Regions from separate parts of the Homo sapiens genome. Here all the other regions are linked to region 2. The links are contacts of gene promoters, found by promoter capture Hi-C in blood cells and fetal thymus (Javierre and others, 2016). All regions are on one chromosome and are shown on one strand. Each heading gives the region's core, a stretch centred on a gene start or on the middle of the fragment in contact. The rest is flanking DNA. Distances are from core to core; before and after follow the strand shown. Region 1 holds the start of FCRL4 (Fc receptor like 4). Region 2 holds the start of FCRL1 (Fc receptor like 1). Region 3 overlaps FCRL4 (Fc receptor like 4).

The links. The method cuts DNA at HindIII sites, captures the fragments that hold promoters and counts their contacts. A CHiCAGO score of 5 or more calls a contact.
Region 1: a contact is called between a fragment that was not itself captured here and the fragment with the promoter of FCRL1 in region 2, in 2 of 17 cell types (naive B cells and total B cells). The highest score is 6.4, in naive B cells.
Region 3: a contact is called between a fragment that was not itself captured here and the fragment with the promoter of FCRL1 in region 2, in 5 of 17 cell types (total B cells, naive B cells, M0 macrophages and 2 more). The highest score is 16.7, in total B cells.

Annotation. Positions count from the first base shown.
Region 1 is chr1:157,594,419-157,599,337 of GRCh38, forward strand. FCRL4 (Fc receptor like 4) reads right to left here and starts at 3,667. Exons shown (of 12, transcript NM_031282.3): 1 at 3,496-3,667; 2 at 1,910-1,930. The coding sequence starts at 3,526. The HindIII fragment of the contact is 3,353 bases long and covers 281-3,633 here.
Region 2 is chr1:157,818,104-157,823,075 of GRCh38, forward strand. FCRL1 (Fc receptor like 1) reads right to left here and starts at 2,017. Exons shown (of 11, transcript NM_052938.5): 1 at 1,904-2,017. The coding sequence starts at 1,934. The HindIII fragment of the contact is 2,741 bases long and covers 389-3,129 here.
Region 3 is chr1:157,577,694-157,582,260 of GRCh38, forward strand. It overlaps FCRL4 (Fc receptor like 4), which reads right to left. Exons shown (of 12, transcript NM_031282.3): 7 at 3,838-3,951; 8 at 2,628-2,655; 9 at 1,077-1,159; 10 at 781-849. Among named protein-coding and RNA genes, the nearest start is that of FCRL4, 18 kb to the right of the region's middle. The HindIII fragment of the contact is 2,222 bases long and covers 253-2,474 here.

The sequences.
Region 1 (4,919 bases), core at 707-3,206, 220 kb before region 2:
GTCATGATGCCTGGAGCTGTGGCAGCTACCACATTTTGAAAAGTCAATATTAGATTCATGCTTTGCCCTACAAATTGCCTGTGGTAATGTAACTTCTGTGAAGTAGAAAATAAAACAAATTGTTTTCATTTGTATTAATTTTCAAAAATAAAATCTCAATTTTGGGGATTGCTATTTACTATGAAATTTTTAATAGAATAAATTATTTTCTCCTTGGAACCTTTTTTACTCAGATGAGGACTGTCTACATTTAAAGATTTTCAGGCAATTACTTTTTTAAAGCTTAAAACTTTAAACATTCTTGCCTTTGCCCAGAAGAACTTCCCAAATAGATCTTTTAGTTACATCTAAATGTGAAGAAAATGCCCTTCCTCTGTTTGAGGGGAAAAAGAAAATTGTAAAATAACCCAACTGCATGTTTTACATGAAGAAGCTAAATGTTCTGTTTGGTAAGGTGAAACATCTCTGTGTCTCTGCAGAATTTATTTTATTTTATTTTTCAGATAGAGTCTTACTCTTGCCCAGGCTGGACTGCAGTGGCCTGATCTCAGCTCATTGCAACCTCCACCTCCTGGGTTCAAGTGATTCTCCTGCCCCAGCCTCCTGAGTAACTGGGATTACAGGCATGTGCCACCACAACCGGCTAATTTTTTGTATTTTCAGTAGAGATGAGGTTTCACCATGTTGTCCAGGCTGGTCTTGAGCTCCTGACGTCAAGTGATCCACCCACCTCAGCCTCCCGAAGTGCTGGGATTACAGGCATGAGCCACTGTGCCCAGCCTCTGCAGACACTTTTTAAAAAGAAAATTCTGTCTTTAAAGGTTTGGACAGAATACTCTATGTCATCAGTGGGAATGGGGCTGTGTTTCTGCTGAAGAGAATAGAAAACCCTACCAGCTATATTCCTGGGAAGCACCTGGATGCAGGGCCATTGGGACTTAGGCAATAGGTCTTCTACTGGAGGGAAGGAGAGTTGATTTCCTTTGATGTATGCAACTAGACTCTTCTTTGCTCTGAGGAAGCTGCCCCTGCTATGTGCAGGTGGCCCTATGGCCAGGAAGGGACATAACTTTTCATGGCCTTCGTGTGTTTGAGACTGAGTTGATGGGCTCTGAGGTTAACCACATCCCTAGCTGCAGTTAATTCAAGGCACTTTTTGTATTTCATTTCCCCATTCTAGAACCATTAGCAAAGTCTGCCAAGTTATAATCTTGTCTCAGGAAGGGTGTGTGGGAAATAGTCTGTGTCCAAGGCACCGAGGAGGGGAAGAACAGCAGAGTTAGGAGCTGCAAGAGACAGTGCACCTCAAGGGGGCCAAGGCCCTTGCTGGCTCCAGCAGCTCCTAGGGTGCTCTATAGGAATGGCCAAAACACCTGTGAGGCAGCTGCCTATAGAGGATGGGACTTTTTGCTGACCAGTAGGATAGATGGAGACTCAGAGTCATCATAATTTGAGCTATTAACAGAGAAGTGTGTCTCCATGGGATGCAGAAGTTGGGGATAAATTTGTTACACATGGTTAGTGGAAAAGCTGCTGGAGCCCCAGCCTCCCCCTCTGAAGTATTGGCTTATTTCTACCCTTTTCCTCTTGGGATGCTATGCATTCCATCAGGCTTGGCTAGAATCCCACATCAGGCGGGGTGACAGCTCCTCTTCCTGTGGACGCTGTGACACATATCCCAGGCCCTGCCATGTTTAGCCAGCACAATGGCAGTTTTGGTTTAAGAGAGTCACCCCCAAATAGCCTGGTTCTTAGGGTCAGAGTCACCACACGAGCTGATGTCTCTACATCCCTGCAGCACTCAGGAAAAGGATGAAATGGACAACAGGGACTCTTGTAAGTATTTGAGATAAAATATAGTTATTAGGGTATCTAGAGACATAAAGGAGCAAAGAAAATAAGGACTTACCAGATTGTCCACAGACTGGAGCTGAAAGAGAGTAAAGAGCCAGCCATCAGCGTAGGCGAAGAGTCCCGAACTATTCACCCTGAGAGCCCATACACTCATATGCTACTTCCAACCAAGAGGAAGAGAAACACGTTCCATTCCATCCATCCCAGGGAAGCGGGGAAACACAGTGGCCAGACGCTCAGGCTGTGGACTCAGACAGTCTGGTTTGAATTTTAGCTGTATGACCCAGGGCAAACCACATGAACTTTCAAGTCTCAGTTTTCTCATTTGAAAAATGAGGCTCATGAAAGCGACCTCATAGTAATACTGTAATGAGTTAGATCAGTAAGGTTTCAATTAATGGCTGCTGTCATTAATTTTTTAGTATGGGGCTGCTGCTGATTCCTCTTCTCTTGACTCAGAACACTTATTATCATAGCTAATTTGGAACTCAAAATGAGACAGACAGTAGAGGGTAGTAGTTAAAAGCCTAGTTTCCAAAGTTAGATTATGGGTTCGAATCCTGACTCTGCCACTGTACTAGCTGCATAAACCTCAGGGACAAGACCAACATCTTTGTGCCTTCATTTCCTCATTTGTAAATGGGAGTTATAAAAGTTCCACCTGATCAAATGTTAGAGAATTGGATACATTTATACATGGGGTGCCCTTAGAAAAGTGGGATGTAGCCAGGGCTTAGCACAAATTAACTGACATCCTCACACATTATCCTGTAACTATTTGTGTAATATTTTTCTCATATTGTCGAGTCAGATGTTCTTGCATGTGTACGTTGAGGTTCTATTGAGAATGTCACCTCTTGAGGGCAGAATCTGTGTCCTTCAGGTCTCTGCATCCTCTGTGGTGCCCAGCAGTGTGGCATGCCAAGTATACCCATCCACTCACTCCTTAGTTCCTATCATGTGCCAATCACACTAATAGGTCTTCCCTTAGTTGGGGTCTGGGGATCAGGTGGGAACTAGACAAATACGCTTAATAAATATTTAATGAACAAAAGACTGACTGTTCTTTAATTCCCTAGTTTGAGCAACTAGGAAATCCGTGCCTCATTTGGACAAACACTGACAAGTGGTACAAAAGCAGGAAGAAAAAAATCAAAGGGAAATCATCTTATCTCTTCTCTTCTCATGCTCTTTGCAAACATCAGAACAGGTTTGAACTTAGAATACAGAGAAGGAAATAACTATTCTCAGCAGGTGATCCTTTCTACCTGAGTTCACAATCAGGACTTTATCCTTCACAAATAACTCAGTCCATCTTTTCCTCTGGGTCCTCATGCTCTGTGACGTAGGGACTGAACCTAGCCATAGGTTTCTTTTTGCATAAACAAAATAAGTCCATTTGGGGGTAAAATGATTTTCCATAGGCAATTCATAGCAAAAATAGATGAGAAATACATCTTTGGAAATCAATTATTATCATTTTCCCCTTCTACCAGTAAATCATTATCTTTCCTTTTTGTTCATTTTCTGCTGTTCTAAAATGGGAGTAAAAATCCATGATTGCAGCAGCAGAAAAGAGGGCTTTTGCTCATGGTGAGGCTCAGCTTTGCAGCAAGCAAAGGTCTCCTCCCCATCACTTACCAAAGGCCAGCAAGGACGCCCACAGCAGCATGGAAGCCTGCTCCAGGATTGGAGAAGGAGTTCTGAGGAGACAAGCCAGGTCAGCCCAGATTGCCAAAGCAGCACTTGCCTACACCAGCACCAGCAGTGAGCTCAGTAAGCTTCTTCTCTGCATAAAGCTGATTGAGATAATGAAGTGAAAGGGGGAAGTAGAGGAATCTTTCTGAAAACACCAAACAGCAATGTGGACCAGTGTGAGAGAATCCAGACCACAAAAATCAAAATTTAATAGAATTAAGTACTGCTGTGACATCCTGGGGTGAATCACTTCTCAAGGCTAAAGCTACTCTAGTTTCAGAACTCTCTAGGCTCTGTCTTTCAAGGAAATCACAACCTATTCTCTCTGCTACTAGAGATGAGGTGAGATTGCAGGCCTATTGAAATCCACATAATCTAAGGATGTCCCTGAATATCCCCAGAGATGAAGAATTTCTCATTCAACACAGAAAAGGCCTCCTCTGACCGCTGATACCTCTACTGGAACACCTCCAGCAGGCCGTCTGTAGACCTGATGAAACATCTCAATCACAAGACAACTCTCACCTTGTCTGATATATATGAAAATATCCTGACTCATCAGTCCAGGGGGAAACCACAACTTTTGATCTGAGTAGAAGGCAAGCTGAGGAGTAAATTATAGCCCCATCATGCTCTTCCTAGATAATAGGCCATAACATTTTTACTTAATGTCCTAGAATCCAAAATTTGCTACAGGAATGTCTTGGCAAATATATATTGATTGAAATACATATGCCTGGTATCTGGTGGCAGAGAGAAGAAGTTGTGATTTCCTTGAAAGACAAGAGGCTAGAGAGTTCTGAAAATATGATGGCTTTAGCCTTGAGAAGCGATTCACGTCAGGAAGTCAGAGTGGGTATTTAAATAATTCTATTAAATTTTGATTTTTGCCATTTGGATTCTTTCACACTGGGCAACATGCTGTTTGGTGTTTTGAGAAACACCTAATGCTCTCCCTACCCATAACAAACCTGCACACTCTGCTCATGTATCCCAGAACTTAAAAAAAAAATTAAGAAAAAAATGGAAAAATCCGTAGTGACGTTTTTTGGTACGTATAATATTTTGGTATGTATAACTCTTTAAAACTTTTTTATGCTATTATCTTGTGTATATGTATGTGTATATATATATATATATATATATATATATATATATATATATATAAAATGTTAATGGCAAAAAAAAAGAAACACCATGGTGCTTCAGGTATGGTGCCAGGTGCTGGAAGTACAGTGTTAATCAAGACTTGGAAAGCTTTCATTCTGGTGGAGAAGACAGCAAGTCAACAGGAAATTACATAGAAGTGAATTGTATGTAATTTCTGAGAGTCCACTAAGAGGGAAATCTGACCCAGTTCTGGGGAT
Region 2 (4,972 bases), core at 767-3,266:
TAAAATATAAAAAATGGAACTACCATATGGTTCAGCCATCCCACTACTGGACATGTATCCAGAGGAAATTAAAGCAGTGTGTTAAAGAGATATCTGCACTCCCACATTTATTGCAGCACTATTCACGATAGCCAAGACAGCATCAATGTAGATGTTCATCAAAAAATTAATGGATAAAGAAAATGCAATATACATACATGATGGAATACTATTCAGACATAAAAAATAATGAAATCCTATCATTTACAACAACATGGGTGAGCCTGAAGGATATTATGTTAAATGAAATGAGGTAGGCACAGGATGACAAGTACTGCATTATCTCACTCATGTGGAATCTGAAAACGTTGATCTCATAGAAGGACGGTGCAGAATCATGGTTACAAGAAGCTTGGGTAATAGTGGGGAAGGAGGAATGAGGGAAATGTTGCTCAAGGGATATATAATTACAGTTAGATATGGGGTGTGTGTCCAGAATAGACAAATATAGAGAGACAGAAAGTAGATAATGATTGCATGTGGCCAGAAAATAGAGGGGTGAGGATAGGTGAGGCGTTGGAAAAAAAATTGGGGATGCCTGCTAGTGGGTATGGCGTTCTTTCTTGGGTGATGAAAACATTCTGAAATTGATTGTGGTGATAGTTGCACCACTCAGTGATTGTCATAAAAAACCATTGGATTGCATAACTTAAATGGTGAATTGTATTATATGTGAATAATATTTCAATAAAGCTGTTTTTAATAAAAGATACTGTAGCATGTTTGTATACTTATGGGAATAATTTAGAATGAAGAAACATATTGATGATGGAGCAAACTTTTTGAGAAAGTAAGAGGGTCATGGGCCTAATGCACAAGTGGAGAGTCTTGTCATCAACAAGATGAGGGGCAATATATTCGTGGTAGGGGAAGAGAAGGCAGTGTATGTGAATGCAGAGGTGAGTAGGTCAACAGCAACAGAAAGATGAGAGAGTTTTCTTCTGACTGCTTTTATTTTCTCAATGAAATATGAAGCAAGATTACACAATGAGAGTGAACAGAGAAGTATGAGGTGACAGGATAAGGTATGCAATAGTGATAATGGAGCAACATGGACTGTGAACATGTAGGATAATTGCCTGGCATTGCTGTTGGCTACCTGAGATTTGGGGGTCCTACACTTAAAAGGGGATAAGTCATCAGGGTTGTGCATTTAAAAAAAAATCCCATTCAGCTGTTTATGTCCAGGAGTGAAGCATGCAGAAGGGCGTGTAAACCAGGAGAGTGCTATGGGGGAAGAGAGATGAAGGTGTGCTCGAGGGAGTGTTGTGGTGGTGAGCTGCAGAATCTGAGCTGAGCACCATGAGAAGTGAGCACATGAAGTGTAGTTACTGATAATGGAAAAGTAGCCCTGGGGTAATTGAAGTCATGTTGGAAATAGAGTGCAGGAGAAAGTGAGCTAGAAACACAACTTAGTGGGGGTGGGGGATGTATGCTGAAAACAAAGGAGTGATGATAAGTTCTAAGGTTTGACTGTGGGAATGGGGAGTCAGAGAGGGATAAAAGGAAATAACGTTGGTAGTAAGAAGGGCAAGGAATTCAGAGGCCTATTTATTATACAGATTTTTCTTTTGGCAGCTGTTGAAAACACTGAGAACAAAGACAATTATTGATGGAAAGGAAGACAGACAGTGAACACTTCCTATGAGATAAAAACTGAAATGATAGTTTTCTTGAAAACTCTGGCTTTTTGAAATATCTACAACTTTTTGCCTGACTCTGAGCCCTCCGTGGAAGTGGAGATCTGAGCACCCCTGAGCATTACCTGACAGAACCTTAGTCCTAAGAAGTCCTTACAGCCCTTCAGGAAGCAGAGCCCAAGCATGATTGCATCCCATGCCCTGCTCTGAGTTGCCCAACTCACCACAGATCAACAGCAACAGCCTCGGCAGCATGAGGACCAGGTCAGGGATGGTACCTAGAGATGCCTCTCATCAAAAAAAGAATGCACCTCAGAGTCGAGCAGCAGCAGCTCATCAGAGGTTTGAGGAAGTTGATATCGGAAGTTACCCTTCAGCAGAAGTAGAAGGAAGAAGAACCCTCTAGTGACCAGTCTCCATTTCCTTTTCTATGAAGTCTGAGAAAATTAAAGATGCTCCTTTTTAAATATAGTTTGATTCAGTTCCACAAGCTGCAGATAGTACACATCAATATTTGAGGGACTTTTTCAAGAATTCAGGTATTTCAAAGGAAGTTTTCTAAAGGCAGTTTCCTACTTTGATGAGTCTCATCAGGTTATGGTCCTGCTGAAATTCATCTTTGATACATCTACAATACTTTTCACCTTTGATAGGGATGTCTCCTGGATTGTTTCTAATTGGCACATTCTTCTTGCTCAGCAATATAGTCCCACTATGCAAACTTTCTCTAGTATAGTCATATTATGCAAACATGTCATTAAATCAGGGACTGATGGGGCTGTCACCCCGGTTATGTGTAGTGTCTGACCCTTGCTGCATATGATGACTTATGTACAGGGTCAACCTATTCATACAGATATACGCTTTGATATTCAAACTTTCAGTGTACCAGTAAATGAGCATGAAATCACTGAAAAATAAAATCACGGCAAATTACAATCTGGGGGATATTTGAAAATGAAATACAGAAAAGAAGTATATGCAAATTAGCTTCAGGGCACTTGAGAAGGGTTCACCATTAGTACTAACTCTGGCATTTGTAAAATTGCCCCTCTTTTCCCTCAAAATCAGGGCACCTATAATCTCTCCCATTGCTACCTTTAGCACATTAGGGATACCAGTTCTAGGCAAGTGAAGCCTAGATTAGGGATTGGAGGAGAATAAGCTATCTTAATTTTCAACATTTCTTAAATCCGTGAGTGTCTAGGATTAAGAATAACTAGAATGTGTGGAAAGTAACCTATTAGGGGAAAGATGCTGTCAGGCAATGATGTCTAAGTCCAGGTATCCAGCTCAATGAGTATGACTGAGAAAAGAAACTATTCAGTGATACGCAAAACCAGAGGGAAAAGGGAGCAATGTTGGTAACCAGGCTAACAGCGAAAGTGCTGAAAACGAATAGGTATTCCATAGCTTTATTTATTGGCTTAGGAAAGCCTGTGTGGGGATAAGCTTGTTTAGTGTAAAGTTTCAGGACCAATGCAAAAAAATCTCCTGAATGAGAATGTAGAGCCCTTTAAATCCAGGGTGTAAAGCTGTTTTTGCATACACTCTGCTGTTTCATCTCTCTCTTTTTCTTTTAATCTGTTGGTTTTTTTAATGTTTTAATTGACACATTGTAATTGTACATATTTATGGGGCACAGTTTGACATTGCAATATAATACATATATATGTTGTACAGTGATGATCAAATCAGGGTGGTTGGCATATCCATTGTCTCGTGCAGTTTTCATTTCTATGTGGTGAGAACATTCAAAAGCCTCTTTCCTAGCTATTTTGTAATATATAATACCTTACTAGTAACCATAGTTACCCTACTGTGCAATAAAACACCAAACCTTATTCCTCCTATCGAATTGGCACCTTGTACCTGTTGACCAATCTTTCCCTCTCTTCCCTCCTCATTCCCTCCTCAGTCTCTGATAGATGCTATTCTATGCTATACTTCCATAATATCAACTTCTTATTTTTTTCAGATTCCACATATAAGTAAGTTCATGTGGTATTTGTCTTTCTGTGTCTGGCTTGGTTCACTTAACATGATGTCCTCCAGCTTCATCATGTTGTCACAAATGACAGGATTTCATTTTGTATGGCTGAATGGTATTCCGTTGTATATATACACCACATTTTCTTTATGGATTCATCTGTTGTTGGGGTCTTAGGTTGATTCTCATCACATCTCTTCCTGTGTGTCCTGCTCCAGTGCCTTCACAAGATGTTCAGATTAAAATGTGTTTCCTCCTCCACAGATATAAAGGCTATAACATTTTATTTGTTAAGCTCTCTCACACTTTTATTTTTATAATGTGATAGTTCATGCATGCATACAAAAAAGTAACATGAATATAAATTATGAAATACTACGATGAAATGAAAAGCCATGAGCCTATCCCCAGACTGTTTTAAGAACTTGAACATAAGGCGGGCGGATCACGAGGTCAGGAGATCGAGACCATCCTGGCTAACACAGTGAAACCCCGTCTCTACTAAAAAACACAAAAAATTAGCCGGGCGTGGTGGCGGGCGCCTGTAGTCCCAGCTGCGCGGGAGGCTGAGGCAGGAGAATGGCGTGAACCCGGGAGGCGGAGCTTGCAGTGAGCCGAGATCGCGCCACTGCACTCCAGCCTGGGTGACAGAGCGAGACTCCGTCTCAAAAAAAAAAAAAAAAAAAAAAAAAAAAAAAAAGAACTTGAACATAACATGATACTATTACATCTACTTGAGTGTGCCTTTTCTAACCCACTCCTCGTGTACTCTCCAGAAGTAATTACCACTCTGAATATTTTGTTTATAGTTCTCTTTCTTAAAAATCAGCTTATCGAGTTATAATTAATATACATTGAAATGAACCCATCATAAGTATATGATTCAATGATTTTTGACAAACATACACACTGATGTAAAAGCAATCACTGTCATGATCTAGAACATTTCCATCATCTCAATGGGTTTCCTTGTGTGCCTTCCCAGTCACCCCAAACCTCCCAGAACCAGGTAACTCTCCATCTGCTTTCTATAGATTTGATTTGCCTTTTCTAGAATTTCCTACAAATTGAAACATATAATATTTACTCTTTTGTTTCTAAGTTCTTTCCTTTTGCATAATATTTTTGAGATTCATCCATGTAGTATGAATAAAGCTGCTATAAACATTCATGTACAAAATTTTGGGTGACTATTCCAGGGTGGAATTATTGAATGAGAATATGCTTATGTTTTCAGGAAACTTAAATTACTTCCCTACTTGATTTTTACTATTTTACATTCCCACCAGCAGTCTGAATTCCA
Region 3 (4,567 bases), core at 114-2,613, 240 kb before region 2:
TCGAAAGCTCCAGAAGTCTGCAGAGAGTTCTCCTCAGGTCTTAGGCTGAATACTGATAGGCATATTTGTAAGATGAAAGTATCTTAGGCCGGGGTAAGAACTACCAGAAAAGAACAGGCAGAATAATACCAGAAGCTGATGCAGATTTTGTAATTAATGGACCATCTGATGTAGAGTCCCCAGAAATGCATTGCTTTACTATCAGGCTAGATTAACCCTACTCTAAAGGTTGCTCGAGACTTACCCTAACAAAGCTTAAATAAAAGCAAGCCTCAAAAGGATCCAACTCATTCCAAATAACTTACCTTGCTCCAATATAAAATTTAAAATCTGACAGTAATTAGAGGAATATAATACTGTAAAAATCACATTTTCTAGCACTTAATTAAAATGCCATGCATATACATATATGTGTATGTATACATATATATATGTATATATATTCTCAGCACAATGCTTACCACATAGTAGACATTTTACAAACATTTATTCATTCAGACCTAAGGGAGACCTTAGTACATACACTATAATGATCACAATATCTATCAGAAGGATGCTTAATTTTCATCCTGATCATCAGCAAAAGTATACTGTGTGTATTTCAGTGCCTATCTTCCCTCCTTAGAATCTAAGCTCTCCACTGCAGGGATTTTTGTCTGCCTTGTTTACTGATTGACTTCCCATACTTACAAGAATACCTAGCACATAGGAGGTGCTCAGTAAATATTTGTTGAATGAATGAATATAGTTTGCAGCCAGAATCTCTTCCCAAAGACGTACCTTCCTCTTCTTCTCCCAGCTGAGTAGTCTGGATCTCAGAGTATACCAAATCTCCCTTTTTGGGGTGTACTGGAAAGAAAAGACATTTTCAAGGCTGTTCCTGTTAGTATTAAAGTGCTACAGATGCCTCTTCCTAAGCATCATCTCCACTCTTCTTGGACACATAATGGAACAATTATCTGGGAATATCTGGATTTGGGACACTTTAGGGAGTCCAGGGGCATTTCCCAGGGCTGAAAGCGCATTATCTTTCCATGGCTGAGGCCAGGAACAGCTTCCTAGAAGGGAATCCTCACCATCAACATACAACGACTGAAGCTCCACCTGGGCAGGGCAGATGGAATGGGAGGACTCTCCTGGGCCTGGAGCGGGAGGGAGCCTGTGAGACACAGAAACACATAATAATCCCTGGAACACTGTAACATGCGGGAGAGTGAGATACCCAGGGAGAGCGGCAGAGGAGAAAGAGGATTTGGAGAAAGTCAGCAGCCAGTAGGGAACTGGAAAGCCTGAATGGTTTAATCAGAGTTTCAATAGGTCTATATAGAGTGAGACTGTTCTTTTTAAAAAAACCCTGGAGCTGTGGTATGGACAGGCTGCCTGGAAACAAGGTTAGGGAGTCTCTGACATCATCGTAACAATCATCGTCTCATAGTCAGAATGATTACTCTTGTTTGGTTAAAAAATACTGGCTTTCCAGCCTGGGCAACATAGTGAGACCTTGTCTCTACACAGAATAAAATAAAGTTGGCCAGGCATGGTGACATGCACCTGTAGTCCTAGATACTTGGGAGGCTGAGGTGGGAGGATTGCTTAAGCCTGGCAGGTCAAGACTGCAGGAAACTGAGATGATGCCATTGCACTCCAGCCTGGGTGACAGAGCCAGATCCTGTCTCAAATATATACATAATGGCTTCTTCATCATCAGGAAGTAGTGATTAAATGTCTTTACTTTACTGTTGGCCTGGTGCAGTGGCTCACACCTGTAATCCCAGCACTTTGGGAGGCCGAGGCGGGCAGATCACTTGAAGCCAGGAGTTTGAGACCAGCCCAGCCAACATTGTGAAACCTGGTCTCTACTAAAAATACAAAAATTAGCTAGATGTGGTGGCTCATGCCTGTAATCCCAGCTACTTTGGAAGCTGAGGCACAAGACTCACTTGAACCTGGGAGGCGGAGGTTGCCATGAGCTAAGATCGTGCCACTGCACTCCAGCCTGGGTGACAATACATACATACATACATACATACATACATACATACATACATACATACATAAAATGTCTTTACATTGTAATGTCTGTACAATCCAAGAAGGAATTAGACATAATCCACACTCTTATTCCTTACCTAAGACTGAGACACTGACATAGAAGGAGGAAGATGACAGTATTTTCCAAATGGAAGTTAAGCACATAACGTTTAATGAGTATATATGCGTGTATGGTGCAAAAAGAAGATTATTAGAAACATAGAGTTCTCTGGAAAACCTAGAACATTTGTAGAAAATCTAGACTCTAGTCATTGTATGCATAATTATAGTAACACATTGTCTAACTTAATTATAGTACAAGAAATATTCTGTACTTTATAACCTTTGGTATTATCCATTTAGATGAGTAGGTTAAGATCAAATAAGAAATCTATTATTTTGCATGTATTGCAAACTATTAGCTGACAAGCAAAGTTCTAGGAAGCTTCATTTTTGACAAATTCATGGAGTGTGAAAATGGAAGTATCTAGCCACAGGGCCAAAGAGGTATAACTTGACCTAATTTCATAACCCCACAGTTTTGCATATTGTGTACTCGGGAAACTAAAAAGGAATGGCAGAAACTGAGGTCTCACCTGGTTTCGTCTCCCAAGAAACCAACTCCTGCAAAATAAAGCAAAGACGCATTTTTGTCAGCAGAGGGAGCTCTTTCTCAATGACTTCATGTAACAGGAGCTATCTAAGAGAGGTAATCAAGACAGTCAATTCAAACACCTGCCCAGTCCTGGGTTTTCATGAAAATGAGGTGAAAAAAAGATTGTACAAAGCATATAACTTTTTGAGGCCAGGACTGCACACTCCTGAGTTAAGTATGTAATTGTCTGAGAATTTATTAAGACTCAAGTCTGTGTTGAAATCCCTCAGGAAACATTACATATAACAAAAGTGTCACTTGGAGAGTAGTGAGCTGTGGGTGAACTTCGAGGAACATCTGTGGCCATGCCCAGAGGAGCACTGGGCTCTGACTCAGCCCCACTAAGGAGAATTGGTCAGAGGTCCAAAGCTCCCTACCTCCAGTTCAATGCAGGACACACAGAAGGTGCTGTCAGGAATCTGGAAAGTTGAATTGAATTAAGAGACAGAGTTGAAGGATGTGGGTAATTATTCTAGAGCTGAAAAAGGTTCTGCTCCTGTCTTCTACACCAGGTTTCTTGGCATCTAAAGCCAGCCTGAGGTGGGCTGAGGCAAGAAGTCTTTGGAAGCACGCAGCAAACAGTGCCTGGGACAGACCATCTCCAAGAGGCAGGGGAGGCTGACCTGAGGAGAGAGGGGCCACTGGAGCACCAGATGGCAGGCTCAAGCCTGCTCAGAAAAGCCCCTGAAAAGCCAGACCCAGAAAAGCCCCTGAGGGGACAGAAGGATAAAATTAGCCAGCTCTTATTCTCAATCATTTCTGCAGAGCCTTTAGTTCATTCTGAATCTCCATTTATGGTGGATTTAGGATAGGCTGAAGTATCTAACTGGCCAGTCTATATGAACCAAAGAAACTGCCTAAGTAAACTGTTCAGATAAAGTTTTTGGAACTTTACATTAAAAATTTCACTCTTCCTCCCCTTCACTGAGACTTAGCCAATCAGACTAGATATGAGCAGCTCTCATTCATGGCTTCTGTTTGCAAAACTGCCCCTTAAGGAAGGGACGGACGTGAGTGTGTGTGAACGCTGGGAGTGGAGACTTGGGAGTGGAGACTTGGGAGTGGTGGCCTGGTGGCCACTAAGGCTGTCTGCATGCTGAGTTCAGGGGAAGGAACAGGGCAGGAACTGTGGCAAAGAAAAGAGCACAAACCTGACTTCCTCCGACGCCAGCAGTGAAACAGCAGGGCCACAGCCAGGAGAAGAGCACTGAGCAGCCCTCCAGTGGCTCCCGCGGCGACAAGGCCATCTCTGTTGCCTGGGGTCTCTAAGGGGAAAGGACCTGTGTGAATCTCAGTGGAGAGGTTCAGGGTTTGGGATTGCCTTTTCCTCAGCTTGGTTGGGTAACGAGCCCTGGAAGAGAGAAAAATCTAAAGGACTAGGTCTCATAAAGACATCTTGGGCCAGGTTTTGGCCAGAAAAGCTCACATTGGGTGGGCCAGGGCCTGAGTGCAAGAGGAAACAGCAGCTCCCTCTACCTTCAGTGAATCATTTTAGAAACTAACAATTTAGGGGAAATCCTAATGTTGTATTCTGGTAAGCTGGCTTCCTGCAAATTGCCCCCAGACACCTGGAGAGATACTGTGGGATCATGGCTTGGCAGCACCTAACTTAGGAACAGCAAACTGCCTGAGAGAGAATGAAAATTGCACCACTGATTATGGCACCAGTTGAACCAACAGTAACTCTGAGATTGCTCCGCATTGGGACACCACGATGAAATGGCATCAGCCTCCTTCCTCATAGAAGCCTGTGCCTGTGTGCTCTGAAGGGCAGGAGAGAAAAAAACGGATGGAAAAGTACACATAATCAATAAATTGTTAGGGGCTTTTGATATTTCCATGGGGTCCGTTCTCCTATCCTTTCATCCACGGAAAAGGAGG